4 separate regions of the Homo sapiens genome follow, and all the other regions are linked to region 1. The links are contacts of gene promoters, found by promoter capture Hi-C in blood cells and fetal thymus (Javierre and others, 2016). All regions are on one chromosome and are shown on one strand. Each heading gives the region's core, a stretch centred on a gene start or on the middle of the fragment in contact. The rest is flanking DNA. Distances are from core to core; before and after follow the strand shown.

Evidence for each region. Contacts are between HindIII fragments. The CHiCAGO score rates a contact against its expected background, and 5 or more counts as called.
Region 2: the fragment with the promoter of CCSER2 here is called in contact with the fragment with the promoter of GLUD1 in region 1 in 4 of 17 cell types (activated CD4 T cells, naive CD8 T cells, total B cells and 1 more); the score reaches 13.2 in activated CD4 T cells.
Region 3: a fragment that was not itself captured here is called in contact with the fragment with the promoter of GLUD1 in region 1 in 1 of 17 cell types (non-activated CD4 T cells); the score reaches 5.5 in non-activated CD4 T cells.
Region 4: a contact is called between a fragment that was not itself captured here and the fragment with the promoter of GLUD1 in region 1, in 1 of 17 cell types (fetal thymus). The highest score is 7.1, in fetal thymus.

Annotation. Positions count from the first base shown.
Region 1 is chr10:87,089,946-87,096,883 of GRCh38, reverse strand. It overlaps GLUD1 (glutamate dehydrogenase 1), which reads left to right and starts at 2,041. Exons shown (of 13, transcript NM_005271.5): 1 at 2,041-2,559. The coding sequence starts at 2,115. SHLD2 (shieldin complex subunit 2) reads right to left here and starts at 1,678. Exons shown (of 10, transcript NM_001330112.2): 1 at 1,636-1,678. RefSeq lists enhancers at 1,028-1,087, 3,492-4,029 and silencers at 1,130-1,387, 1,308-2,007, 2,128-2,267, 2,468-2,807. The HindIII fragment of the contact is 4,292 bases long and covers 523-4,814 here.
Region 2 is chr10:84,325,590-84,332,483 of GRCh38, reverse strand. It overlaps CCSER2 (coiled-coil serine rich protein 2), which reads right to left and starts at 3,895. Exons shown (of 10, transcript NM_001284240.2): 1 at 3,676-3,895. RefSeq lists enhancers at 1,875-1,954, 3,002-3,351 and a silencer at 3,402-4,131. The HindIII fragment of the contact is 12,289 bases long and covers 3,090-6,894 here.
Region 3 is chr10:89,392,211-89,398,923 of GRCh38, reverse strand. It overlaps IFIT1 (interferon induced protein with tetratricopeptide repeats 1), which reads right to left and starts at 6,301. Exons shown (of 2, transcript NM_001548.5): 1 at 6,207-6,301. The coding sequence starts at 6,211. It also overlaps a transcript of LIPA not described here. RefSeq lists enhancers at 5,572-5,621, 6,423-6,472, 6,703-6,713. The HindIII fragment of the contact is 6,532 bases long and covers 1-5,986 here.
Region 4 is chr10:89,705,646-89,712,368 of GRCh38, reverse strand. It overlaps KIF20B (kinesin family member 20B), which reads right to left. Exons shown (of 33, transcript NM_001284259.2): 3 at 3,116-3,202; 4 at 2,908-3,024; 5 at 2,304-2,442; 6 at 1,224-1,408. Among named protein-coding and RNA genes, the nearest start is that of KIF20B, 7.4 kb to the right of the region's middle. The HindIII fragment of the contact is 5,889 bases long and covers 1,086-6,723 here.

The DNA.
Region 1 (6,938 bases), core at 792-3,291:
TAAGGTAAAATATAAGTTCCACCTGTATGAAAAGATAATTTTGACTTTGAGAGTACACTTAGATGAATGTCATTTAACAGATCCAGGTTGTCACCTTATATTTTACACAATATTTCGAGAACTAAGAACTTTCTCTTCCATATTCTAAAAGATGAATAACATGAACATATCGGGAAGCACCATCGTTTTGCAGGTCCAATGGGTGTCATTTTAAAACCACCCAAGTACACTGAGACCGCTAACGCTAGTAATGTGGTGTTTGGCAGCTAGTTTTAATGACTGTCATTAGAGCTTTATTTTTTATTTTCTTTTTATAGAGACGAGCCCAGGCTGGTCTTGAACTCCTGGCCTCAAGCGATCAGCCTGCTTTGGCCCCCAAAGTGCTGGGATTACAGGCGTGAGCCACCGTGCCAGCCTCGTTAGTTTGAAAAGCACCAAAAGCTATCCATAGGAATGTGAACTTTAGCATTTCCTATCAAGTATGTATAAATACATAACTGAACCCTCATACAGCATAAAGCTTATAAATCATATACTGAGGCCAGGCGCGGTGGCTCACGTCTGTAATCCCAGCATTCTGGGAGGCCTAGGCGGGCGGATCACTTGAGGTCAGGCGTTGGAGACCAGCCTGGCCAGCACAGCGAAACCCCGTCTCTACTAAAAATGCAAAAATTAGCCGGGCGTGGTGGCGCGGGCCTGTAATCCCAGCTACCCCGAGGCTGAGGCAGGAGAATCGCTAGAACGAACCCAGGGAGGTGGAAGCTGCAGTGAGCCGAGATGGTGCCACTACACTCCCGCCTGGGCGACAGAGCAAGATTCCATCTCAAATAAATAAATAAAATAAAAAATAAATCATATACTGAACCATTTAACAAATACATATATTCCTGAGAAAGAATTTCCTGGGGGCATTATCGCATTTCTAGTTTCCTTATTTTAGACTATTTCAGAGGGAGATAGGGTCTCCCTCTGTTGCCCAGGCTGGGGTGCAGTGGAGCTATCGTAGCTCACTGCAGCCTCGAACTCCTGGGCTCAAGCCATCCTCCAGCCTCGACCTCCCAAAGTGCTAGGACTAAAGGCGTGAGCCACCGCGCCGGGCCGGAGCCTCTGTCTGCAAAGGTGAAGCAGTCAGTACTGTGGGGCGACACAACCACGACGTGCGTAACTATGCGATCTCCACACTGCGGAGCAGTTGAACGGGACAATAAAAGCTCGCGTGGTGAGAGCTTGTGGGCGAGTGACTCCCTTCCAGCTCACGCCAGCCACGCATAATCCAACTCCGGGTGCCACGCCGCTCTCTGCAGCCCTGGCTGGTGACGCCGAGCCCTCAGCCCGGCCTTACGCGGCGGCGGCTCTGCCTCGCTTTCCTGCCCACGTGTCAGCCCCTGCACGCCCGGCCCCGGCCTGAGGCCGCCAGAGGACAGGCCAGGGTGGGCCGCCCGTTCCGAGGGCGCGCGGGCGGAAAGGAGGGGCGCCCGTGACTCACATGACCCGGTCCCCGACCAGACCGCCAAGCCTCACCCACGCGGCGCTCGGGGGGACTCGGCCTCTGAGCGCCCTACAGAGGCCAGCCCCCGACCCCGACCTCCCTGGGCTACCCCCAACCCCCCTGAGGGACCCCCGCGGCGCACATACCTGAGAGCCCCGCCGGAGGCGGGTGCGGCCTCCGGGCAAATCCGGCCGCCCGTGGGCCCGCCCCGACCCGCCCCGACCCGCCCCGACCTTCCCCTCCCTGCCCCTCCCGTCCGTTCCCCTCCACTCTCCTCCCCGCCCTTCCTCTCCCCTCCCCTCCCTTCCCCACTGGCGCGCGAGCGTGCGCGCCGAGCCCGCCCGCGCCTGCGCGCCCCCGACGCCCCGCCGGCGCGCGCTGCCGCCAGCGAGGCCCGGGGAGGCCGCGGCGGAGGCGGAGGCCCGGCGCCCTGGGCGGCGCCCTGTCCCCGAAGTCCGTCCTCCCCGTTAGGTGGCGAGCGCCCGAGGGGAGGGGACAGCCGGGCAAGCAGGAAGCTGCGGCTTAAAAGGGCAACCCGCGCGGGACCCTTCCTCCCTAGTCGCGGGGAGTCTGAGAAAGCGCGCCTGTTTCGCGACCATCACGCACCTCCCCTCCGCTTGTGGCCATGTACCGCTACCTGGGCGAAGCGCTGTTGCTGTCCCGGGCCGGGCCCGCTGCCCTGGGCTCGGCGTCCGCCGACTCGGCCGCGTTGCTGGGCTGGGCCCGGGGACAGCCCGCCGCCGCCCCGCAGCCGGGGCTGGCATTGGCCGCCCGGCGCCACTACAGCGAGGCGGTGGCCGACCGCGAGGACGACCCCAACTTCTTCAAGATGGTGGAGGGCTTCTTCGATCGCGGCGCCAGCATCGTGGAGGACAAGCTGGTGGAGGACCTGAGGACCCGGGAGAGCGAGGAGCAGAAGCGGAACCGGGTGCGCGGCATCCTGCGGATCATCAAGCCCTGCAACCATGTGCTGAGTCTCTCCTTCCCCATCCGGCGCGACGACGGCTCCTGGGAGGTCATCGAAGGCTACCGGGCCCAGCACAGCCAGCACCGCACGCCCTGCAAGGGAGGTGAGCGTCGGCCGGGCCCCGTCCCGCCCTCCCTGCCTCCCCTGCGGCCCTCCCCTCCGGCCTCCTGCCGGTGCGGGGCCGCTGCTCAGCCCAGCCCAGCCCAGCTGGAGCGGGCCGGGTCCCCGCCCGGGTCACCCCGCCTCGGATGTGGCCGGCTCTGTGGATGGTGATTTTTCCGCCTTAAAATCATCATGCGATTGGCCTGCCCCCTCCCCCGCGCCGTCACCCCGGGCCTCTGTATATGCTGATCTTGCATGCAGAGTAGACGCTGCACCGGTCTCCTTTTGGTCCCGGTGTCTGTGTCACACACGGCGGGTCCTGCCGAAATGCACTTCTAGGAAAGGGAATGACCTGCCCGTGTGATAATGCCTCGTCAGTGTTCTTGGGCTTTTGTGAGTCTCCCCTAAATGCAAGCTGTCAAATTATTTTCTGGTATTTGTTCACTCCTGTTCCAATAGTGACAGATGATATCCGAACATAGAAAATGACTTGGCTTCTAAGTTTGAAATCTAGACAGTTTTATTAACCAAAGGAATTTACTAATCACGCGTTAATCGTTTCAATTAAGTAATTTTCCCATTCTGACAAGTTCTGTTTTATACCAAAAAAAAGGAAAAACACAAAAAAATCACAAGCAATGTAATATCTCTGACAAATAAACACCTGGCGTCCTGACAGTAAATTTACAGGTTGTAGGCTGCGGATGGCCAGCCAGCCAATGGAATGAAATAGCTCTGGGGGTGTGTACTGGTCCTGGCTAGCCCTGAATTTGAGCTTCAGGAAAAATATAGTACGTGAAGAAAGGGGTCAGATAATGTTTGGTAGTCACTGGGTTATCCTGTGGTTTAAATCATTTAATGTCTGTAGATTTGGCCTCTGTAGTCAGATTGCTTTCTTCGAGCAAATAAGAGCTTTTTTCCCCCCAATACATTGCATCATACCTCTTTAGTAACATAAAATGGAAAGGACAAACCACTTTTGTCTACTGTAAAAAAGAAAAATTATATGGAATAAAGAGCCCAGGGAGGCGAGGAGTCTTGTTGGAGGTGGATTGGCTGAGAAGCACAGAGGATGTTGGGCTAGACCCATGTCTCAGTAAACCTGGTTCTGTGGTCTTTCAGTTATGCCCGCTGACTTATGAGGATTTTTAGAAATCCTCTCTGTACCGGAAAAAACTTGAGCGGTGCTGGTGTTCCCAGCAGGGGGGACAAAGGTTGTTTTTAAAGATTTACTAAATTTGCATTGACCCCGCCCACTTCTAGGACTTAACTTTGGAGCTTAATTATCCCCTAGCTCTGGTTGCCTCAGCCAAAACCAATGTTTGAACCACTTTGACCTCTGATTTCCTTTCTAGCTTCAAAATTGTATAAAATGTACACACCGTCAGTCTCCTACATTTGCCTGCCTTCTTCCTACCACTCCCTTATTATCCAAACCAGGAAAACAAGTTCAGACTCCAAAGAAAGGCAAATAAGGATGTTGGAGGAAGTTCAGGCAATGTTTAGCAAATATTGAGTTGCATCGTTTTCTTAAAACGGACATCAAGTTTATTTTTTACTATCTTGCTGGCAGCATTTGCCAGTCCTTTAAAAGGTGTACAGATAAATCAGTGTATGTGGTTTTCTGCAGGATGATTTGGTCTCTGAAATCCTTTTTCTTCGATTCTTCAGATGCCCAGCTCTCTCCTGTTTTTATAAGTCGCAGCTCCGCAAACTCACTGAAGCAACTCGTTTACCATAGTTTGTGAGTCCTCTTTCTCTTGTTGCCACAGCAGTTTTAATGCCAAAATATTGAACCTAGCAACAAATTGGGTCAGCCATACCAAAGCACTGTTACTGTAGCACTTGCTTGTACTAGAGTGTAAGATACAATTTTCTGTTCCGTTTATCCCATTTACAAAAAAACATGCTATTAACCCCCAGCATATAAACAGGGAGAAACTGAATTGTTACTAGTAAACTGTTGCAAGCATTGATAGAACATCAAAGAAAATTGGCCTCTACAAAGTGACAAATTTATTATCTTCAGGAATTTGAAAGGCTTTCTGGATTGGGGAAGATTACATAGCTATGAAAGCCCTTAAATATTTTAGTTTGCTTAATAAACAGTATACTAAACAGATGATCAGCAAAATTTGGGTACTATAGCCTTCCATGCTTTGTGTTCAAGACATCCCCAGATCTATCTACCCATTTATCACCCTTGTTTGCAGAGAATGTGCATTGTAAGAGAGACAGGTCTTCTTTCTTAAAGCTTTTTTAACGTCTAAGAAATTGTTAACCTTTGTAGTCCCACTCTAGTCTTAGAAACACAGAATATATTAGGTGATTGAGATTTTTTTAAATGCTTTGGATAATCCCTATGAAATTCTGTCTTTCCCTCTTAAACATATTTTAACACGTTCTTCTTACCTCTCCCCACTAACCTGTCTTCTCTCCCATTGGTTCTTTGCCAAAAAAAAAAACCTCATCTGCCTCTCTCCACCCTTTTACCAACCTTCAGCTTTCTGTATCTCATTTTCCCTCAAGAACAACCTTATCCCTGAGTTTTCTAAATTAAAATTCTTGAGGTTGAAGCAAAGCAACAATCTAGCAATAATCTCTAAGGGAAACAGATGGTTATAAGACTTGGTGGCTGATGTGTACTTTTTCCAAGTAAATATTTAATAATACACACTGTTTTTGTGCTTTTCTTTTCCCAGTTACTACATGTACCTGAGGCCGTTAGATTTGTCTGTGTTAAGGATTTGAAAGGGTAAGCTAAAGGATCTGAAGGGAAGTTTAAGTGAGGCCTTAAAAATATTTCCAGCAAAGGGGCATAGTGTGAGAATATGCGACTGATTTGAGAAGACTGGTTCAAAAGTTCTGGTGGGTTTGGAAATATTATCAAAGATTGTTCTATTAACTTTCCCAGAGTAAATTATCTGTATTTCATTTGCTATGGTTCTGCCTGAGACCAGTCTACCTTTTTAGAAGGAAGTTTATTGTTTTAAAGTCAGTTTGGAGGGAAAGTACAGATTGATAATAGCAATTTATTGATGGTAGGAGTCAATTAACTTTCTCTTCCAGTCTGCCCCCCCCCAGTTGTCTTGATATTAAAACTATTAAAATTCCCTATCACTGATGCTACTATCATAAAATTTTCTAAAATTATCATAATTTACATATAGTTGATGGACCGTAGATGGAGTTCTCTCATACATTGACCCTAAGTCTTTTAATTACAAATATTAGTACCCAAAAAAGTGTACCCTATATTAATCCAGTAACTAGTTTTTAAAAGTCAAAATGCCAGAAGGAAACAGTGGAATCTTGATGACATAATGCAAGGGAAGACCGGAGTCAATGCAGTGTTAAAGACGCCCTCAGCCTCTGGGATGTCATTGTTTAGCGCTTAAGGGAAGACTATAGAAAGCACTGATACTGATTTAAAATGAGATATTTCTCTGCCTTCACTGGGGGAAAAAATGTTTCTGACTTATTTTGCTGTGCTCAATTGACAACCATCAAAACTTAGGTAACTTTTAATAAACTCACAGTTTCTAATATTTTTAAGTGGCTGTGTGTCTGCATCTGCTGCCACAGATAAAATATAACCTTTGTAGGTGAATTTAATTTAGGACTTTTCTGAAAGTTCAGTCAGAGGATAGGTAATTTGTGTGTCTTTTAAAAGCACTTAGCCCCGAGGTTGTTGTTTTTAATACATCTTATTTAAATACGGAAATGTGTTGCCCTTATGCCTTTTTATTTCATGGAAGCCAAATGCGTCTTTTCTCCCAAAGTATACTAGAAAATGAAGACGCTTGGTAATGGTAGTGATCTGTACATCAGATTTCAGTCTTTCTGTCACTTGCGTGTATGAATCCATTTAGCAAGTTTGCTTTTGGCAGTAAAGCCCCACGTGCAGGAAGACAAACAGCTGCTCACTCATTATCCAAAGTATACTTTGTAAGAATTAGGGCATCAAAAATTGGATCCTAAGCACCAATATATATTAAAGTTCAGTACAACTTGTAGTGTTTAAGTACAAGAAATAAAAATTGAGCCTGAACTTTTGGCATATAGTGGGAAGAAATTAGGTTTACCGCTGTTAATAATTCAGAGTGCTTAGGAAAATCGGTTTTTATTTACTTATGTTAAAAATACTAAGGGTTCTGTAACCATTAAAAACTAAAATACTAACCTGTAGATGTTGAAAAAATCCTAGACACTAGTCTCTGCCACGTGACTGTTCTTCTTTTCTATTTATTTTACCCAATAATTAGGCTTTTACAATGTAAGTAATAAAGAGAAAAATCTCTAGTATCACTTTAGAGCACATTGATTCATAAATAGCCCATAAATTTTGTACTCAGCAACCCATAAAATACACATGCATGA
Region 2 (6,894 bases), core at 2,646-5,145, 2.8 Mb after region 1:
CTGGCAACAGAGCAAGACTCTGTCTCAAAAAAAAAAAAAAAAAAAAATATATATATATATATATATATATAAAAAAATAAATTTAATAATATAAAATCTATAAAGCCTACAATAAGAAAAAATAGATCAGAAATGTTTTTCAAGAGATTAATATATTTATGATGTTAGTGCTAATGAAAATTGGTGAGAAGATTCCAATAAATTTATGGACGATGGACAAATAAAGGAGAAAATAAAACTAGAAGAATACTGCATTTGCTTGTCTATTATGGACTATGATGTTAAACTGCAAGGAACCTTATCCTCATTTTTAAAAAACAAACTTTTAAAAGCAAAAACCTATAAAGTATGATAGAAATGGTCAACCAAACTCTACTGGAGTCTGTAAATCAATATCTTTTAGAAGTAAATCTAGTAATATTTTTCAGAATTAACAAAACCTTCATACCCTCTGACTTTGTAATACTGCTCCTGGGCCTTTAGCCCAAAGGGAAGAAGCAAAATGATAAACAGCTATATACTAACGGCATTATCTGCAAAATAGTAAACAATCTAGATGTCCAATTATTAAGAAATGACATTGTAACACTGTATAATCATCTAAAGGTATAAAAACTATAGCAAAAATAAAACATCAAATATGAAAGCAAATATTAAGCATTATGTGTATGCTTTATCATATAAAACCACTGATATGACAAGAAATAAGAAGAAAAATTAAGTTTGTTTTGATTTTTAAAATTTCTTTGACCATTGTTTGTAAGATAAAAAGCCTTTTGGAATTGGTCAGGCCCACACCACTAAGTACACATTTCAACTTTTTAGAGACAGCCACAATCATCAATTTTTTCCCCCAAAATCCTATCACATAGGAGTAAGATAGGCTCCTCTCACAGACAAGCCACACAAGTAATTTTAGCCATGCTATTAGCCAGCTGCAACCTTCTTATATTAAAATCTCATTGTACCATCAAAACTTAACTGTATGTGAGATGTCCATATGGTGATCAGAAGCCACTTGTTATGGGGCATCTGGAGAGAGCGCCCCAAGCACTGAAGTTAAAACTATCTGGCTGAGAGGAATAGTGAAGGTTAGGTTTCTCCCATATCCCCAAATGAATTATCATGTTTCTCAGCCACAAGGGTTCTAAGTCCCTAGGAGTGGCAGCCATGTATTCAAAGAGGGAGAAAGTGCAAGCAGATTTGCACTCCCTCTGAAAAACTGGCAGCTCCTTCATTTCACCCCAAAGCACCATGGAGTAGTGAAAAACACACAATGATGAGGTCAGGAGATATGAGATGTAGGTGAGCCTAAGCAATCTCAAACAAGTTGTCTTTTTAGGCTGAGTTGTTTAACCGTAAAATTTTTAAAGTTGAACCAAATAATCTGTTAATTCTTTCAAGTTCAATATTCTATTGACCCTTTTTTCAGAACACATCCAAGTCGCTCACAACTCCCATTCAAATTGTAAAACAATTAAGATTTAGAATTAGGAGACTGGGGGCAAAAGTGAAATACACAGATGGTCAAAAGACCTGGACTGTAATCCCCGCCATCCCTTTCTACCTGCGTGACTTTGCGCCTCAAAATAAAGTTGTAGGACCAATGAAGCAGCAATCTTTATTGGTCATGCCCTTTTTATTCCTGTATCATAAAATGGATTTTTTTTAACATAACTGGGGTTTCATTCCTAACCAGCCTACAATCCCAGCACTTTGGGAGGCCGAGGTGGGCGGATCACGAGGTCAGGAGTTTGAGACCAGTCTGGCCAACATACTGAAACCCGTCTCTACTAAAAAAAAATTAGCCAGGTGTGGTGGTGTGTGCCTATAATTCCAGCTACTCAGGAGGCTGAGGCAAGAGAATCGCATGAACCCAGGAAGCAGAAGTTGCAGTGAGCCGAGATGAGGCCATTGCACTCCAGCCCAGGCCACAGTGCAAGACTCTGTCTCAAAAAACACAAAAGAAACCCCAAAACCTGGTGGAGACAGACACATAAACAAATCATTAACTACCAGTTGACAAATACTAACTGGAGAGTGTACGAATCAGTTAAGACAAGAGGGATGAAATGTCTAGACAAGCCTCAGAAGTGCTACTTTCGTAAGGTCTTCAAGGGCAAGTTGTTTACTAGGTAGAGAATTCTCAACAAAGAACACTGAAAAACCACAGAGGAAGATGTCATCTTCAGAGAACTGCAACAGTCTTATATAGAGAGGGCAGGCATAATGGTAGAAGATGACACTAGAATGGAGACAAATACCGCTAATCATGAAGGACTTTGAATTTTATCGATATAGACTATGGAGAGTCACTGAAGGACTTGTAAATATGGATTCAAAGTCCCTTCCTCCAAAATAGTCAAAGGAGTTGAGTCAAAGCAACAAAAAATGCAGGTCTGAATGTGGAAAGGTAGAATTTTTACAGAATTCTTAATAGAGACTTTCGGCTTGCTTTCAGGATGGCTTCTAGTGCTTTCTTAACTATGGCTTATGCTGAAGTACGACAGTATGAATTATGGCTAAAGGGTTCAACAAAGTGTGCATTTTTAACCTGAAGATTATTTGAAGCCAATGTTGTTTAGAACACAAACGAAAACAAAAAATAACAGTAACAAGCTTTCATAAATTAAGAGAAACAGTAATAAAGTCCAAGAGGAAGAAGACTGATTTCAGGCAAACACTCAGGAATATTTACATTTTTATCACATATGGATGACGGATAAGACATGTTTTGAACCCATCTTTTGCAGGAGAGCATCTTAAGTTCCTTTTGGTTAAAGAGCAGCTGCCATCTCTAAAGTCTCTAGTCTAAAAGATGATGCTTTAAAAAAAACAACTGGCCAAATGAATAGGTTCCGTCATATTTTAATGCTCAGGAGAAAAGGAATGCTTTTCATATGGCTATTTTAAAAAGCTTAAAGCTCAATTTCTCTCTTACAGGAGTGAGCTACCAACACTCTAATCTGAGACCAGAGTCCCTGCGTCAGTCATTTCCACTCCGCTAAGGCCTTGTCTGGGAGCAGCCAGCCTCATTGGTCGGGGAGCCCACACAGATGAATATGCAATTACTGAAATGGAAACAAGCTTCGCCACCAAGGACCACCACAAAGGAGTCCCTTCATTCCTCCTTTTACTTTATCAAGAAAGTAGGTGCATTATTTAAAAATGTATGAAAATACATGTCTAAAGACAAGAGAGAAGATCTGAACCTACGGCAACGGTGTGCCCCACCAAAGTTTCACCTCAGGATGTGTTTTAGGGTGTGTCTTTCATTTAGCCCAGTAATTGAAAGAAAAAAAAAATCGAACTCATTCGGGGAGCCCCGGTACTTTCCCTATCCACCCTCACACGCAACCAGGCTCCGAAATCAGAGTGCCTCAGCCTCGCCCTGATTTCTCCTGAAAGGCGGCGGCGCCCGCGGCCCGAGGCCCCGCGCTGTCACAGCCGCAGGGAGGGCGCCCTCCGGCCTCCCGGGTCCGCGCCCGCCCCGCGTCCGGCGGCTCGCGAGGGGCTAGAGAGGCTCACCCTGGAGGCCGGGTACGGGAGGGCGACACCGCCTCAGCCCGGGAGTTCGGGCCTCCGCCCCGCCCCGGACTGCGTGCCTGGTCTTGGGCTGCCCCCGGCGCCCGCCGCGACCCCGGCCCCGGCTCTGGCCCTGAGCCCGGATCTCACCGTGCGGAGGTCGCGCTGCCTCCTCGGCCGCGGCCCAGCTGCAGGCCGCCCTGCGACCTGCGGGCCCGAGGACGGAAGGTGAGACGAAGGGCCGCCCGTCACATCCCCGCCAGCCCCGCCGCCCGAGCCGCAGCAACCAGCATCGCGTCCGCGGCCTGAGGGAGCGCCGGACTCCAAAGCCGCCGCGCCCCCTCCCTCGGCCGGCGCCCGCCCGGACTCCGCCCTCCAGGGCCGGCGCACCGCGCACGCGCAGTCCCGCCCCGCCGCGGGCCCGTGCGCAGGCGCGAGCCTCACGGGGCTACGGGGACCGCCCCCACCGCCTGATCCGGCCTCAGCCCACCTCTGGCCCCGCCCCGCCCTCACGCCAGGCTTTCCCAAGCTCCGCCTCCGCTTCGGGCCCCGCCCCCTCCACTGACCTTGCCTGGCCGCCTCCTGACTCAGGTTTTTGCTGGGCCCACGCAGTGACGCCAGTCTTGCGGCTGACCTCACCTCTAGCCGTCCCCTGGACTACATTTGCTGCTTGAGTGCGGTCAAACCTGACAGCTCCTCCTCCTGGATGTGAAAAGTGAGGAGTGGTCTGAGCATTGGGCATGACTGAACCACGCACCTGCCTACCGCATCAAAACACAGGATCTTGCTAAAGCTGAGGGGAAGGGGCACCCCAAGTGCTGATCTGGTTTTCCCTTTTTTTTTTTTTTTTTGAAACAGAGTCTCGCCCTGTCACCCAGGTTGGAGTTCGGTGGCGCTATCACAGCTCACTTGCAGCCTCCTGGGCTTAAGCGATCCTCTCGCCTCAGGCGTGTATCACCAAGCCTCCGAAATAATTACAACTAAGACCACACTAGTCAAAGTAAACTATCACAAGTTGACCCAAATACCCGGCTAATTTTTATTTTTTCTTTTTAGAGTTGGGGGAAGTGGTCTTACAGGCTAGTCTCAAACTCCTGGGCTCAAGCAATCCTCCCACCTTGGCCTCCCAAAGTGTTGGGATTACAGGCGTGAGCCACAGCTCCTGGCCAATGTGGTTTCTTTGCCAGAAACCAGGTCTTTCTTCCCTTTGGGGCTTCCATCCCCCAGAGGCCATCTCTTCCCCTCTTGTTTTTCCTCGACGCGGCCAGTCCTGCTGCTGAGAGTCCTCAGCCTGGAAGGCTTCCGGGCCTGGCCGGCTGTTTAAAGCTCTGGAGTTGCCCTTACCTGGTTGTAGACTTGCAGTTCTCTGAAATCCTCGTCGGCCCCAACAGCTCGGTTGTAATAACATTTCAGGAGAACTGCTTGAAAAATATCCAGTTCTTTCCTGTCTCCAGATCAATGATACTCAAATGGAAAAAGCAGACGGAATGCCTGATTTGTATAACCACACTTCATTTAATAATACACTTTCATATTTAGAAAATAATGTCTTTTAAATATCAATCCCTAAGATATTTAATGTATTGGACAATAATGTGTGCTTAAAATATTGACAAAGACTAGGTCTAAATGCTGTGCAATCTCTCTTTGGATTAAGTGAGATTAGAAAAGCAAACACCAGGCCGGAGGCGATGGCTCAAGCCTGTAACCCCAGCACTTTGGGAGGCCAAGGTGGGAGGATCACAAGGTCAGGAGTTCAAGACCAGGCTGGCCAATATGGTGAAATCCCGTCTCTACTAAAAATACCAACAAATTAGCCGGGCGTGGTGGCGCATTCCTGTAATCCCAGCTACTTAGGAGGCTGACGCAGGAGAATTGCTTGAACCTGGGAGGTGGAGGTTGCGGTGAGATGAGATCATGCCACTGCACTCCAGCCTGGGCGGCAGAGTGAGACTCCATCTCAAAAATAAAATAAAATAAAATAAAATGCCCAGGCCAGTTGTGGTGGCTCACGACTGTAACCTCAACACTTTGAGAGGCTGAGGCGGGAGGATCACTTGAGCCTAGGAGTTCAAGATCAGCCTGGGCAACATAGAGACCTAGTCTATTAAAAAAAAAAGAAATTAACCAGGCTTAGTGGCATATGCCTGTAGTTCCAGCTATTCAGAAGGCTGAGGCAGTAAGATTACTTAAGCCCAGGAGGTTGAGACTACAGTGAGCTGTGATCATGTCACTGCACTCCAGCCTGAGTGACAGAGCAAGACCCTGTCTCCAAAAAAAAAAAAAAAAAAAAAGAAGGCTAGGAAAAAACTTTCCCATAATGCTAATACATGTACATACTTAGCAGAATCACAATAGCATTTTAGTGTATTTTCCTAATTTTATAAGCATCCTTGATACGTTTTATTTGCTTTCAGTTAATTTTCCTGGGTCTTTTCTTTTTTTTTTGAGATGGAATCTTGCTCTGTCACCCACACTGGAGTGCAGTGGTGAGATCTGGGCTCACTGCAGCCTCCACCTCCCAGGTTCTGCGATTCTCCTGCCTCAGCCTTCCAAATAGCTGGGATTACAGGCATGTGCCACCACGCCGAGCTAATTTTTGTATTTTTAATAGAGACAGGATTTCACCATGTTGGCCAGGCTGGCCTCAAACTCTTGACCTCAAGTGATCCGCCCGCTTCGGCCTCTGCTGGGATTACAGGTGTGAGCTACCGTGCCCGGCCTGCCCTTCCTCCATCTTCAAAACCTGCAAGAGTAGTTTGAGTCCTTCCCACATTGCATCACTCTGACCTCCTCTTCTGTCTCAGTCTTCCACTTTTAAGGACACATGATTATGTTGGGTCCAACTGGATGCTCTAGAATAAGAACCTTATTTTAAGGCCAGTTGATTAACAGCCTTAATTCCATCTGCAACCTAAATTCTCCTTTTTTGGCATCCTCTTGATGTAAGAGAGAGACATTCTTTCAGGGGAAGTTTTAGGATTCCATGACAAACAGCACAATGAAACAGTTGATCCAGAGCCCCAGTAGGAGATGATTCTGGAGACCATCCAAAAACAGACAAGTTGGGTGCAGTCCCACACACCTGTAATTCCAGCTACTTGTGAGGTTGAGGCTGGAGGATTGCCTGAGGCCAGGAGTTCAAGCCCCACCTGGGCAACATAGCAAGACCCTGTCTCTAAGAAAAAAAAAAATACAACAGACAAGAATCTCTGATGAAATCTCCTGGCTAGGCATGGTGGCTCAAGCAAGAGCTTTGGGTGGCCAAGGCAGGAGGATAACTTGAGGCCAGGAGTGTGACCAGCCTGGGCAACATGGTGAGAACCCCCCATCTCTACAAAAATAAAAAATAATAAAAGTTAGCTGGAT
Region 3 (6,713 bases), core at 1,471-3,970, 2.3 Mb before region 1:
AATTACCATTTGATCCAGCAATTCCACTTTTGGTTTTATACCCAAAAAGAAGTGAAAGCAGAGACTCAAGCAGATTATTTATTTGTCCATATTCATAGCAGCATTATTCACATAGCAAAAGGTAGGAGCAACTTAAGTGTCCATTGATGGATGAATGGATAAACAAAATGTGGTATATACATACAATGGAATATTCAGCCTTAAAAAAGAAAAGACATTCTGATACATGTTACAACATGGATAAACTTTGAAGGTATTATGTTAAGTGAAATAAGCCAGTCACAAAAGGACAATATTGTATGATTCAATTTATATAAGCTACCTAGAGTAGGCACATTCATAAAGACAGAAAGTAAAATAGTGATTAACAGGGACTAGGGTGCCGGGTCTGTCCCACAGACCCTGGCTGATGGATGAAATGAGTACTCAGACACAGGTATGCAATGTAAGAGCAGCTAGGTGACTGCCTGGCTCTAGTGGCCAGAGAACATCCCCGAGAAGCTGGAGCTGCTTACTTTTATTCAGTGCAGGCACAATGCCGAAAACCTGGAGCCAACACAACCTGTAGGGAATTAACATTTATTGTTCCCCTTTCAGGGAACATCACGCATGTGGATGATCAAAGGTCAGTTCCTGGTCAACATAAATAAACAAGCCTGTTTAAGATACATTCCCCCACACTCCCTTGTACCTACTCCTTGCCCTCTGCCTCAGAGTTATAGAACAGCTGCCTTCAGCTGTTCTCCCCCAGGGCTCTGCAGAACCTTCTGACCTTTCAGAAGGCTTGCATTCTTTCCCTATAGTTTTTCCCGTCACTCTGACTGATCCTCCACACTGGGGGAGGAGGGAATAGGAAATGATTGTTTAATGAGTACAGAATTTCAGTTTAGGAAGATGAAAAATTTCTGGAGATGGATGGTGGTCATGGTTGCACAATAAAGTGAATGTATTTAATGTCATAGAACTGTACACTTAAAAATGGTTAAAATGGTGGATTTTATGTTATATATGTTTTACCATAATAAAACAATTTGTGATTTATTTATGGCAAAGGTACTCCAAACAAAGTAAATAGAAAAATAACAAAAACGTGGAAAATGTTTGTAATACAGAGAAGACTCTCATCTGTAATATACAAAGTGTTTTTGTAAATTGGTATAGTTCAACAGACCACTGGAAATCTATGTGAATAGATAATTTGTAGAAAAGCCAATATAAATGGCCAATAAATATGAAAAAAAATGCTCTGGATCAAGACAATGACTCATGCCTATAATCTTAGCACTTTGGGAGGCCAAGGCAGGAGATTTGCTTGAGGCCAGAAGTTTAAGATCAGTCTGGGCAACATAGTAAGACCCTGTCTCTATAAAAAGAAAAAAGATGCCCTAAGCCTCTAGCCATTAGAGAAATGCAAATTAAAGAAGCAATAATTTATAACTTTATTCCACTCAGATTGGCAAGAGTTTAAATGGATGAGGACACAATTTCTGAAGCCATGTATTATTATGGCCTTCAAGATCAATCTGATGACAGCCATGAAAATTGATAGTAATTAAAATTAAAATTTTAATTTTAAAATCAAAATTAAAATTAATGGTGGTCATTAAAATTACATTTCCTTCAACAAAGTAATTCCACTCCTCAGAATCTATCTCCCAGAAAAAAATAACCAGTACATAAGGATGTATACTCAAGAATATTCATTACCAACACTGTATATATTAGCAACAAACTGGAAATATTAATAGGGAACGGTTAAATAAAGGTATATCTATACCATAGAATATTATGTAGCCACTAGACTACATGAATTAGATCAAAACTACTTGAGTTTGATGGACTTTCATATATATCAAGAAAAGTGAATTGTAAAGAAGTGTCCAAAACACGACCCTATTTTATAAAGAACCAAATCCTTATATATTTGTATGTATGTGATTACTCATGTATGGAGAAATATATGTAAGTATATTTACAGCTCATCAACAAAAAGATAAGCAACCCAATTTAAAAATGGGCAAAGGACTTGAGTAGACAATTCTCCAAAGAAGAATCACAAAGGACTAGCAAACACATGAAAAGATGCTCAACATCATTAGCTACTAGAAAAATGCTAACCAAAACCATGAGCTATCACTTCTCACCCAGTAAGTTGGCTACAATAATAATTTTAGAAAAGGAGAATAGGTGAACAAGTATTGACAAGTGCTATGGTTTGGATACAGTTTGATTGTCCCCACCAAATCTACGGAAATTTGATCTCTAGTGTCACAATTTTGGAGGTAGGGTCTAGTGGGATGTGTTTGGATCATAGAGGTAGGTCTCTCGTGAATGACCTGGTGCCATTCTAGTAGTAGTGAGTGAATTCTCATTCTTGTGAGACTGGATTGGTTCTTGGGGGAATGGATTAATCCTTTGAGAATGGGTTGTTATAATGTGAGGATGCCCCCTGGGTTTAGACCCTCTTTGTATGTGCTTCCCCTTTGACCTTCTCCAGTGTGTTTTGACACAGCACCAAAGCCCTCACCAGAAGCTGAGAAGATGCCAGCACCATACTTCTTGTATGGGCTGCGGAACTGTGAGCTAAATAAACCTTTTTTCTTTAGAAATTGCCCAGCCTTAGAAATTGTTGCTTATTCTTCTATAGCAACACAAAAAGGACTAAGGCAATAAGGATGTGGAGAAATTGAAACCCTCATACATTGCTGGTGGGAATGTAAAATGATGCAGCTGCTGTGGAAAACAATGTGGTGGTTCCTCAATAAGTTAAACATAATATTACCATATGACACATTCCTGGGTATACATTCCTGGATGTTCCACATCTGGATATATACTTAAGATACTTAAAAACAGGTGTTCAAATAAAAACTTGCACACAGATGTTGATAGCAGCACTATTCATAATGGCCAAAAAATGGAAACAACCCAAATGTTCACCAACTGATAGATAAAAAAATGTAATATATCCATAAAGTGGAATATTATGTAGCCATAAAAAGGAATGAAGTACTGATACATGACACAACATGGATAAACCTTGACAACACTACACTAAATGAAAAAAACTGATCCAAAAGGTCACTGTTGTATTTTTTTTTTTCCTAATTTTGTCTTGAGGTCTCTCCTGTGAGAGTGGCTACAATCTACAGCCCTGCCTTGAAAGAGCTTCAGGGTATTTGGTCATGGATATTTACAATGTGCCTTTCTTGGGATACTTCTTTATTTTGATGAACAGCCTAATGCCTAAGCGTCTGATCTATGTCTAGGTGTCCCCTTTTATAGGAAACTTGTTTATATCAGGCAGATGCCCTTGTGGTTCTTGCCTGACCTGTGTTTAGTTTATTTCTACTGAGACAGCCACTCTCTCGGAAAGCCATGACCAGTAAAGAAGAGTTTGAGTGTGTTGGTCAGGTGAAATACAAAGGAGGCAATTGAAAAAAATAGTATGTGAAATAACAGAAGCAGCTTATTACTTACAGATCCAGAGAGAAGAGGGTAATATGCCTTGCAGGGCCAATGGGAAAGGGGGAGCCATTGAGGACATGCCTGCTCAACCAGCGAGTGGGGAATGTGGGCCCAAGCCTTTATGGGAGGCCAGGGCGTTACCTAGGTGGGTTTCCTGTGGAGAGTTCTATTTGGTGGGTTTAGAGCAAGCAGGTGCAATTTTGCCAAGGGGTCATGCTGTGACTGAGAGGTGGTCACTGCAGCACATCTGCCTGGTCCATGTGGGGTGGGGGTGGGGTCAGTGGGGGCAAGTCAAATAGGTCATACCCTGCTATGCTATAGGGAAGTGGTCACCAGGAGGTAGTTATATAAAGCAGATATCTGGATCAATCACATTGAGGAACTGGAAAAAGGTGGAGAACTAGAAATTGTCTCAAGGGTGACTGAGCCCTGCTTCTGGAATGAGAAAGTCCAACTTAATATTCAAAAAGGGATGCTTAGGAAATATAAAATTATAAAAATTCAATATAACCACATAGTATGTGTTTCCATTTATATGAAATACCCACAATAGGCAAATCCATAGAGACAGAAAGCAGATTAACAGTTGCTGGGGCCTGGGGAAAGAGGCAAGTAGGGAGTGACTGCTTAATGGCTATGCAGTTTCTCCACATAGCGAGAAAAATGTTCTTGAACTAGATAGTGATGATGATTGCACAGTAGTATCATGAATATACTAAATACTACTAAATTGTATACTTTAAAGTAATTAAAATGATAAATTTTATTTTACATGTATTTTATCACAATAAAAAATCACATTGCTAACCTGAATAAAATTCAAGTTTTATATATATATATATATATATATATATATATATATATATATATATATATATTTTCCTGTAGTACATATTGACATAAACATAAAAGCAGGAAAACATAAAAGCAAATGAGTTTGCCATCTGAAATAATCACATGAGCCCCCACTGACACCCTTTGGGAAACATTGATTTAAAGGTTTAATGAAATATCATTGAATGTAGAGATCCTGATCCATATCTCAAAGCTACCACTTATTGTCTGTGTGATCTTAACATTTCTAAATCTAAGATTCCTTATTGTAAAATCAGGATCATACAGCCATGCACTGCATAATGATATTTTAGTCCACAAAGGACCACATATTTGGTGGTGGTCCTATAAGATTTTAATGCCACAATTTTGCTGTACTCTATGTTTAAATATGTTTAGATAAACAAATACTTGCCATTGTATTGCAGTTGCCTACAGTATTCAGTACAGTAACATGCTGCACAGGTTTATAGCCTAGGTGTGTAGTAGGCTATACCGTCTAGGTTTGATGTTTGCATAATGATGAAATTGCCTAACAGCTGCATTTCTCAGAGTGTATCCCCATTGTTACACGATGCATGACTGTGTAAGTACCTGCCTTATAAGTATCTTTTGAGAATTAAATGGAATAATTTACATAACACTTTTAGAAGCCAGGCTGTCACTTAATACGAATTCAAGAAGTGATAACTACCTTTATAACATTTAATATTATTATTATTTTAATTATCAGTACCAACTCCATCTGTTTACAGAGGAGGGTTCATCATAGGCCTGTAATGTGCATTTTCTGGAATTTTTACCTCTTCAAAATTTTGCCAACTGGAGCACTGAGGGGAAAATTTACAAATCAGTATTAAGTAATGGATTTTTTGTTTGTTTGTTTGTTTTTGAGACGGAGTCTCGCTCTGTTGCCCAGGCTGGAGTGCAGTGGTACAATCTCAGCTCACTGCAACTTACGCCTCCCAGGTTCAAGTGATTCTCCTGCCTCAGCCTCCCAAGTAGCTGGGACTACAGGCATGTGCCACCATGCCCAAATTTTTGTATTTTTAGTAGAGATGGGGTTTCACCATGTTGGCCAGGATGGGCTCCAACTCCTGACCTCAGGCGATCTGCTCACCTTGGCCTCCCAAAGTGCTGGGATTACAAGCATGAGCCCCCTTGCCCGGCCTAAGTAATGGTTTTTAAATCAGCTGAGAAATTCCCACATTAGGCCCTTTAGGTAAGGAAGATACGGATCTTCCCAAGCAGATGTGGATCATCTTCAGTCAAGGACGTACCAAGAGCCTAGATTTTCCAGGGAGGAGGCAATCTGTTTATCTTAAGCTCAGCCTGATTGCGAAAACCTGTTGTAAGAGGCCAGCAGTGCAGAAAGTGAGACCAGAAGCCTATGGAGGAAGGCTGTGAGCTTTTCCTACCACATCTCCACTGTATTACCCACAAGACATCAGAGAGGCTGCAAGACTGAGGCTTTCACATTCTTGTGGGTCCTGCTTTTTCTCTGTGGTAAAGAACCTGCAGAAAGCAATGCCTCTACTCAGACAAGCTGTCCATTCCTTCCCCATATCAGACAGAAGTGAATCTGATGGGAAAGAATCTCTCAGATTGGGATCATTTTCTCCCTTCCTGCAAAACTCTTTTCCCATTTCCCTCCCCTTCTTTGGGCTATAGCATGAGGTAAGCTTCCTCAAGTTCATGCTAACAAACATAAAAATGCATTAAACAATTTATGTATGTGTGAACGTGCACACACATGCATGCACACATTCAGTCCATAAGCAGATACTCAAATCGAGGAATTAGAAAACCTGACCTCACTGAGATCTAACCTGTTGAAATAGTATTTAATTACCATTTTTTCAAAAACTTTAGACATTATGGCAGAGGAGCAAAGAAATCCTTACCTCATGGTTGCTGTAAATTAGGCAGCCGTTCTGCAGGGTTTTGCTTAGCCAGGCTCCTCTGAGATCTGGCTATTCTGTCTTGTGGATTTTCAGTTACGTTTAAACCCCAAGACAGTGTTATATAAGGGAGCTAAACAGCAGCCAATGGTGTAAGCTGTGGGTGTGTCCTTGCAAGTTGGAAACCTAGGGAAACCGAAAGGGGAAAGTGAAACTAAAGCTAGCGGAATTCCTGCTGACGGGGGGGGGTGGGGAATGAAACTTTGTTTCTATTTTAAAACAGATAAACTGCAGACCTGCAACCATAGATGTTTCTAGTGCTGCAGAAACCCAATGACTGGCCAGCATTTGGAACGAGATTCACGTCCTCCCTAAAGAACATCAGTCCATTGCTGCCTATTGTGGCAGTTGGTGGCTGGATTCTGGATGAATACACAGAAAAAGGAGAATTGAAGGAGATAGCTCTATTTTCAGTTTCTATATTTAGAAGGAACCTACTATCAAATATAA
Region 4 (6,723 bases), core at 2,781-5,280, 2.6 Mb before region 1:
GGCAGGAGAATCACTTGTGCCCAGGAGTTCAAGACAGCAGTGAGCTATGATCATACCGCTATACTCCAGCCTGGATGACAAAGCAAGATCCTGTCTCTAAAAACTAAAAAAAGGAAGAAAAAAAAGAAAAACACAATGGGGGCAGGGGAGAAGCAAACAATAAGCCAGAAAATTTGCAACCCATACACTAATACATTAATAATGTATTCATTTTTTTAAATACATTTTAATAAATCAGTAAACAAGAAAAGTCATACAATACTAGATAAATGGACAAAGAACATGTGACAATTCACAGGAAAAAATTCTAAGATGTACTAATCAACTAATTTACAATTAAAAAAATATAAAGTAGGCTCAAGTGAGCCATTTTTCACCTATCAAACCAGACATTATTAAATATCCAATCTTGGCCTGAGTTTGGGAAAATTAGCACCAAATATATTTGCAATGGAATGTTTCTTTACTGAAACACTGTTCAAAATAGTAAAACACAGAAACAATACAAATGTCCATCAATGGAGACTTAGTTTTAAAAGCTGATTTAAAATTTAAAAAAACAAGTTAAAGACATAACAGATAAAACGCACATGATTTAAGGTAGGAAGAGATTTAAGATACGCTAAATGAAATACCAAGTCATAGAATGGTAAGCATAGTAAGATCTCTTTTTTGTTTAAAAAAAAAAATTATATCATACATATAAAAACAAAGGTATGAAGATATACACATCATATATATGACCATGTTTGTGTATATACAGATAGAAAGCTCTGTATATGGATTTTATATAGAGAGAGAAAAGGTCCAAAAACAATACTTCCCAATCTATTAATAATTTTTTCTTTAGGAATGAAATTAAAGGAAACTTTTACTTTTTACTTCTCACATTCCCTATTTTAAATTTTGGGTACATATTACTTTCACAATTAAAAAACAGAATTTTAAAAAATCATTACATAAAAAGCACAATGCTGGCTCTACAACAATCAAAAAAGATTTCAGAACCATTTACATTTGTATTGTTTAAACATTCTTGCTGTTGGTATAATATAAATACAAAAGATGTCTTCACACTTTAAGCTTTATTTTTCTCGAAAACATAAATAATAACAAAAAACACTACCACCACAAACCAGATTCCAATATATGGTGAAACAATCTAAAGGGTTTATAAGAAGTCAGGAATTATACATATTTTACATACTAAAATATTTCCATACCTCTTTAATTTGCCGAAGCAATGCACTTTTGCTAGCAATTTCTTCTTTCTCTTGTTCTGATGATAACCTTAAGTATTCTCTGGATCTATGTGGTTTAAGGTTCATCTTTGTATACAGTCTTTCTTGAAGACTATCAAATAATACATTCAAAGTTCGAGGCAGAATGCCAATATTTTCTTCTGTCCCTGCAAAAGGAATTTTTGTGTTATACTCTCTCAGTCTACTAGGAAAGAGGAAACTTTACTTGTTTATTAAAGCTCCTTTTATACTACCAATAGGCAAGAGTCAACAACTGAAACGGAAATGATAGCTAAGGATTACTCAGTTTTCCATCACTTTGTTATTCACAGTATTACCAACATTTTATTGACTATTATTCTGATGTAAACATGAAACTTTACATTCAGATAATGCAACCATATTAAGATTTGTAACCACCCATAATCACAAACTATAAAAGTAAAATGAAATATAAAATTTCTTCTGGTCATTTATGCTTAATTCTCTGTATCACATCAATACTTTTTCTGGATTTTAATCATCATCTAAATCTCTATCAATGGGTAAAGTATTTTTACAAATGAATTAAATAAATTTGAATTAAAAGCCAATAGCAAGGCCAGGCATGGTGGCTCTTGCCTGTAATCCAAGCACTTTGGAAGGCCAAGGTGGGCATATCACCTGAGGTCAGGAGTTCGAGACTAGCCTGGCCAAAATGGTGAACCCCCATTTCTACAAAAATATAAAAACTAGCTTGGCATGGTGGCGCACGCCTGTAGTCCCAGCTACTTGGGAAGCTGAGCAGCTCAGGCAGGAGAGTCATCTGAACCCAGGAGGCAGAGGTTGTAGTGAGCTGAGATCACACCACTGCACTCCAGCCTGGGCAACAGAGTGAGACTCTGTCCCTCCCCCGCCAAAAAAAAAAAAAAACAGCAATACGTAATAATATGCTAGTACTATTAAAAATAGAGCAAACGCATACTAGGTAATAGCAACATAACTACATGTATGTATTATAAAAACACTGAGTGATTATTATTGCTTCCTTATCCTTTCCAACCAAAATAAAACAATATTTACCTTGAAATGTATATGTTTTTCCTGAATTGGTTAGCCCGTAAGTAAAAATCAGACGACTCTGTCCTTTCAAGAGGTCTTTTACTGGTTGCATAATGCAACCCTGAAAGAATTCCTTCTGTGTAGTTGCTGGGCCAAAAACCTAAGCAAACATTTTTTAAAAACTCTTTTTAGAAAATTCAAGTTAATATTAATAGTGTGTTCCATCCCAACACTACTGTTTAAAAATTTAAAAGATTCATTCTTAAAATAGGTGCCACATCCCCACTCCCACAAATACATTTGATAGTTTTACTACCAGAAAGTTTTCAAGATAGAAATCTGTACCAGGGAATCAAGTATTCACCTAAGTTTTGAAAAGAATATTTCTTAAAAATATATTAATAATAACTTTAATAAAAATATAGTAATAATAACTTTAATAACACTACAGTGATCTCTTTACATCCAATTATATATTTCCAGACCTGAGATTTGAGTCTTATCCTTAAAATCTAAGTTGCATAAGCATAAAATGTATAGTTCATTATATACAATTATATAGCAATTTAGCCTAAGCCAAGTCTCTTTATCTTTAAAACAAAAAACAAAAACACTTCAGTTTTACCTTGGAAAAACTGAATTTCTGTGCCATCTGCCCTGAGCTTTTTTCACTTAACCGACCAAGGATGCATTGAGGCTCTTTCAGCACAACAGTCTGTGAATCCAGAATATGCACACAGCCCTAGAAAACATACCCCCAATAAATAAAAACTAGTATTTTGCCATTTTAAATGAAAGTAAAATATTAAAATTCTATTAAATTCAACACAAACCTCAGACTCAAGTTCTTTTTCTGACTGTGTAAATGGTCTTATTCGAAGACAAACCTGGAGATAATCTTTAGATTCGAAACTGTTTGCCTTAAAAAATAAAGGAGAAAAACATTGTGTTTTTGAAAGATACGGCTTTTCAGAGACCATTTTTCCTTAACATGGCTACTTTTTACATAATAATCTGAGATGATAAAGAATTTCTAAGCAGTCACTATCCTGCTTTTAATAATGTTAGAAAAACTCAATAAATCTATTTAAATAAAAACAAAATACACCAAAAAAGATCCAATTTCCTCCATCTCCTGTATTTATACGTGAAGTTTATAAAAAGGCTTTATTCCACAAAAGCCTAATATAATTAATGAGGCCCTAAGTCATTGGAAAATATAACTCTAGAATAAATCAAAAGTAACTAGAATATTCTATTATTCAAATGCTCAATTCCATGAGGTATTCAGAATTTTTTTACTATGTACCATTCTCCTTGTTACTTTTTCTGAGGAAGAAATGTGCATAGAAAATGTAATTTTAAAGAAATGTTTTAATGTTTTTTTAAAAAAGTAAAAAGGAAACAACTTGATAAATGCAACTTAATCAAAACAGACATAACTAGAAAATCTGAATAACCCAATTTCTATGAAGCAAACTGAATCCATTTTCAAACAAAATAATGCCACAAAAAAAAAAATTCAGGCCCTAGTAGTTTAACAGTAAATTCTATCAAACATTTAAGAAAATGATCAGGCCAGGAGCGGTGGCTCATGCCTGTAATCCCAACACTTTGGGAGGCCGAGGCGGGTGGATCACCTGAGGTCGGGAGTTCGAGACCAGCCTGACCAACATGGAGAAACCCCATCTCAACTAAAAATACAAAATTAGCCAGGCATGGTGGTGCATGCCTGTAATCCCAGCTACTTGGGAGGCTAAGGCAGGAGAATCGCTTGAACCTGGGAGGCAGAGATTGCGGTGAGCCAAGATGGCGCCATTGCACTCCAGCCTGGGCAACAAGAGCAGAACTCCGTCTCAAAAAAAAAAAAAATACAAATTGTACATAAACTCTTTAAGAAAATATAGGAAGAGAAAATACCTTAACTAATTTTGAGTTTGACATAAGCCGAATAACACAATTGACAAAGATATCCTCAGGAAAAAATTAGAAAACAAAATACCACATTAAGATATACGCAAAATTTCCCACACAAAATACTAGCCAATATATAAAACAGGATAATACATCTGACCAAGAATGGTTTATTCTAGGAATATAAAGTCTGTTTAGCATTCAAAAATCAATCCAGGCAATTAACCATATTAAAAGAATAAATGAAGAGAAACTTTTATCTCTACAGATGGGAAAACAGCATTTGACAAAATCCAACGTCCATCTGTAATAAAAATTCTCAGCAAAGTGTAATGAATGCAAACTTCCTCATCCTGATAAAGGGCACTTACAAAAAATCTATCGCTAACAACAAACTTAACAGGAAAGACTCAATCTAAGATGAGCAGCAAAATGAGTAATAAGAAGAGGATTTCTGCTTCCCCACTTCTAGTAACATTGTATTAAAGGTTCTAGCTGGTGTAATTGGGTGTGAAGGGGGAAAGGGGATGGGGGAAGAAAAAAGGAGGGGTAAGGGAAAGAAAAAGGGAAGAGAAAAGGAAAGGAAAAAGAAAGGTAAAAGGGAAGGGAAGAAGGGAAAGAAAGAAGTGGAGGGGAGAGGAGGGGAAAGAAAAGGAAAAAAAAAATGGAAAGAAAAAAAGGAAATGAAAAGACAAAAGTCATCCAAATTGGGAAGGAAGAAATAAAATTTTCTTTATTTAGAAACAACATGAACATACGCATACAAAATCCAACAAATCTACAAAAAATTAATGTATACTAACAAAATGCTAATCAGAGGTTACTTGGAGGTGTGATGGGAGGGAGCACTTACAAGGAGCCTCAAGGAAACTTTTGAGGGTAATGGTTATACTCACTATCTTGACTGTAGTGACAGTTACATAAGTGTATGCACATGTCAAAACTTATCAAACTGCGTATCTAAAATATATGCAGTGTTTCATTATGCCTAAATAAAGCAACTAAAAATATTTACAATAGCATCAAATAACATAAAATGTTTATAAATATATTTGACAAAAGACACGAAAGGCCTCTACATTGACAAGTATAAAATACTGCTAAGACATTAAAGACCTAAATAAAATGAAGAATACTGTGTTCATGGATTAAGACTCAATATTGTCAAGATGTCAATTCTCTCCAAACTGATCCACAGATTTAATGCAATCCCAGTCAAAATCCCAAGATGCTGTCTTGTAGAAACTGGCAAGCTGATTCTAAAATTTATGAATATGCAAAGGACCTAGAAAAGCCAAAATTTTCCTAGAAAAGCAAAACTGGAGAATTCACACTACCTAATTTCAAGAATCATTATAAAGCTACAGAAATAGAGAGTATTGTGTTGGAATAAGGACAAATAGGTCAAAGGAAGAGAATAAAATCCAGAAATAGATCCACATATACACAGCCGTTTGTAAAGCACCAAAACAACAGGGAAAGGAAAGTCTTTTCAATAGATAATGCTGAAATAACTACTTATGTAGTTAAAAAAAAAAAAATGTATGGAAGCTAAAAAGAAAAAGAAAAAAGTTAACCTGGGTCCCTATATCAACTGCACACAAAAACTGTTCAAAATGGACCACAGATATAACTACTCAAATGAAAACTAAAATTTCTAGAAAAAGTAAGACAAAAACTTTGGGGAAGGCGAAAGTTTCTTAAAGAGAACACACACACAAAAAAATTCACCAAAGAAGAAAAGAAAATGTTAAATTGAATGTCTTTAAATTTTAAAATGTCTGATCATCAAGACACTATTAATCTGATAAAGGATTTGTATACATAAAGATTTCTCACAAAACACTAATGAAACAACCTAATTTAAATGGGAAAAAGATCTGAAGAGACACTTTACAAAGAAAGTAGAAAAATGGCCAAGAATACTTGAAAGAGTGCTCATTAGAAAGGGCAAACTAAAACCACAACAGGATACCATTACACATCCACTAGAAATAAAAAGTTCCATTATCAAGTGTTAGCAAAGAGGTAGAAGCACTGGAACCTACATACATTGCCACTGCTGGGATAGCCACTTTGAAAAACAGTTTAGTAGTTACTTATAAAGTTAAACTTATACAGTTTGTATTCCTAGGTATTTACCAAAGAAAAATGAAAACACAAGTTCACAAAAAGGCTTGCACATGAATGTTCAAAGCAGCATTATTTATAATGACCTCAAACTGTAAACTACCTAAATGTCCATCAAACGACAAATGGAAATGTGGCATATCTGCACAACAGACAACTATTTAGCAATAAAAAGGGAAAAACTACTGATGTATGACACACGACAAATCTCAAAAACATCATGCCAATCCAGGAGTCAATAAATTTTCTCTGTAAAGAGCTAGACAGCTAATATTTTAGGTTCTAGAGACCCTATAGTCTCCTCACAACTACTCAACTCTGCCATTATAGTGCCACAACGGATGTAGTAAATAAATAAACCAATAAGCACGATTGTGATGCAATAAAACTTTATGGA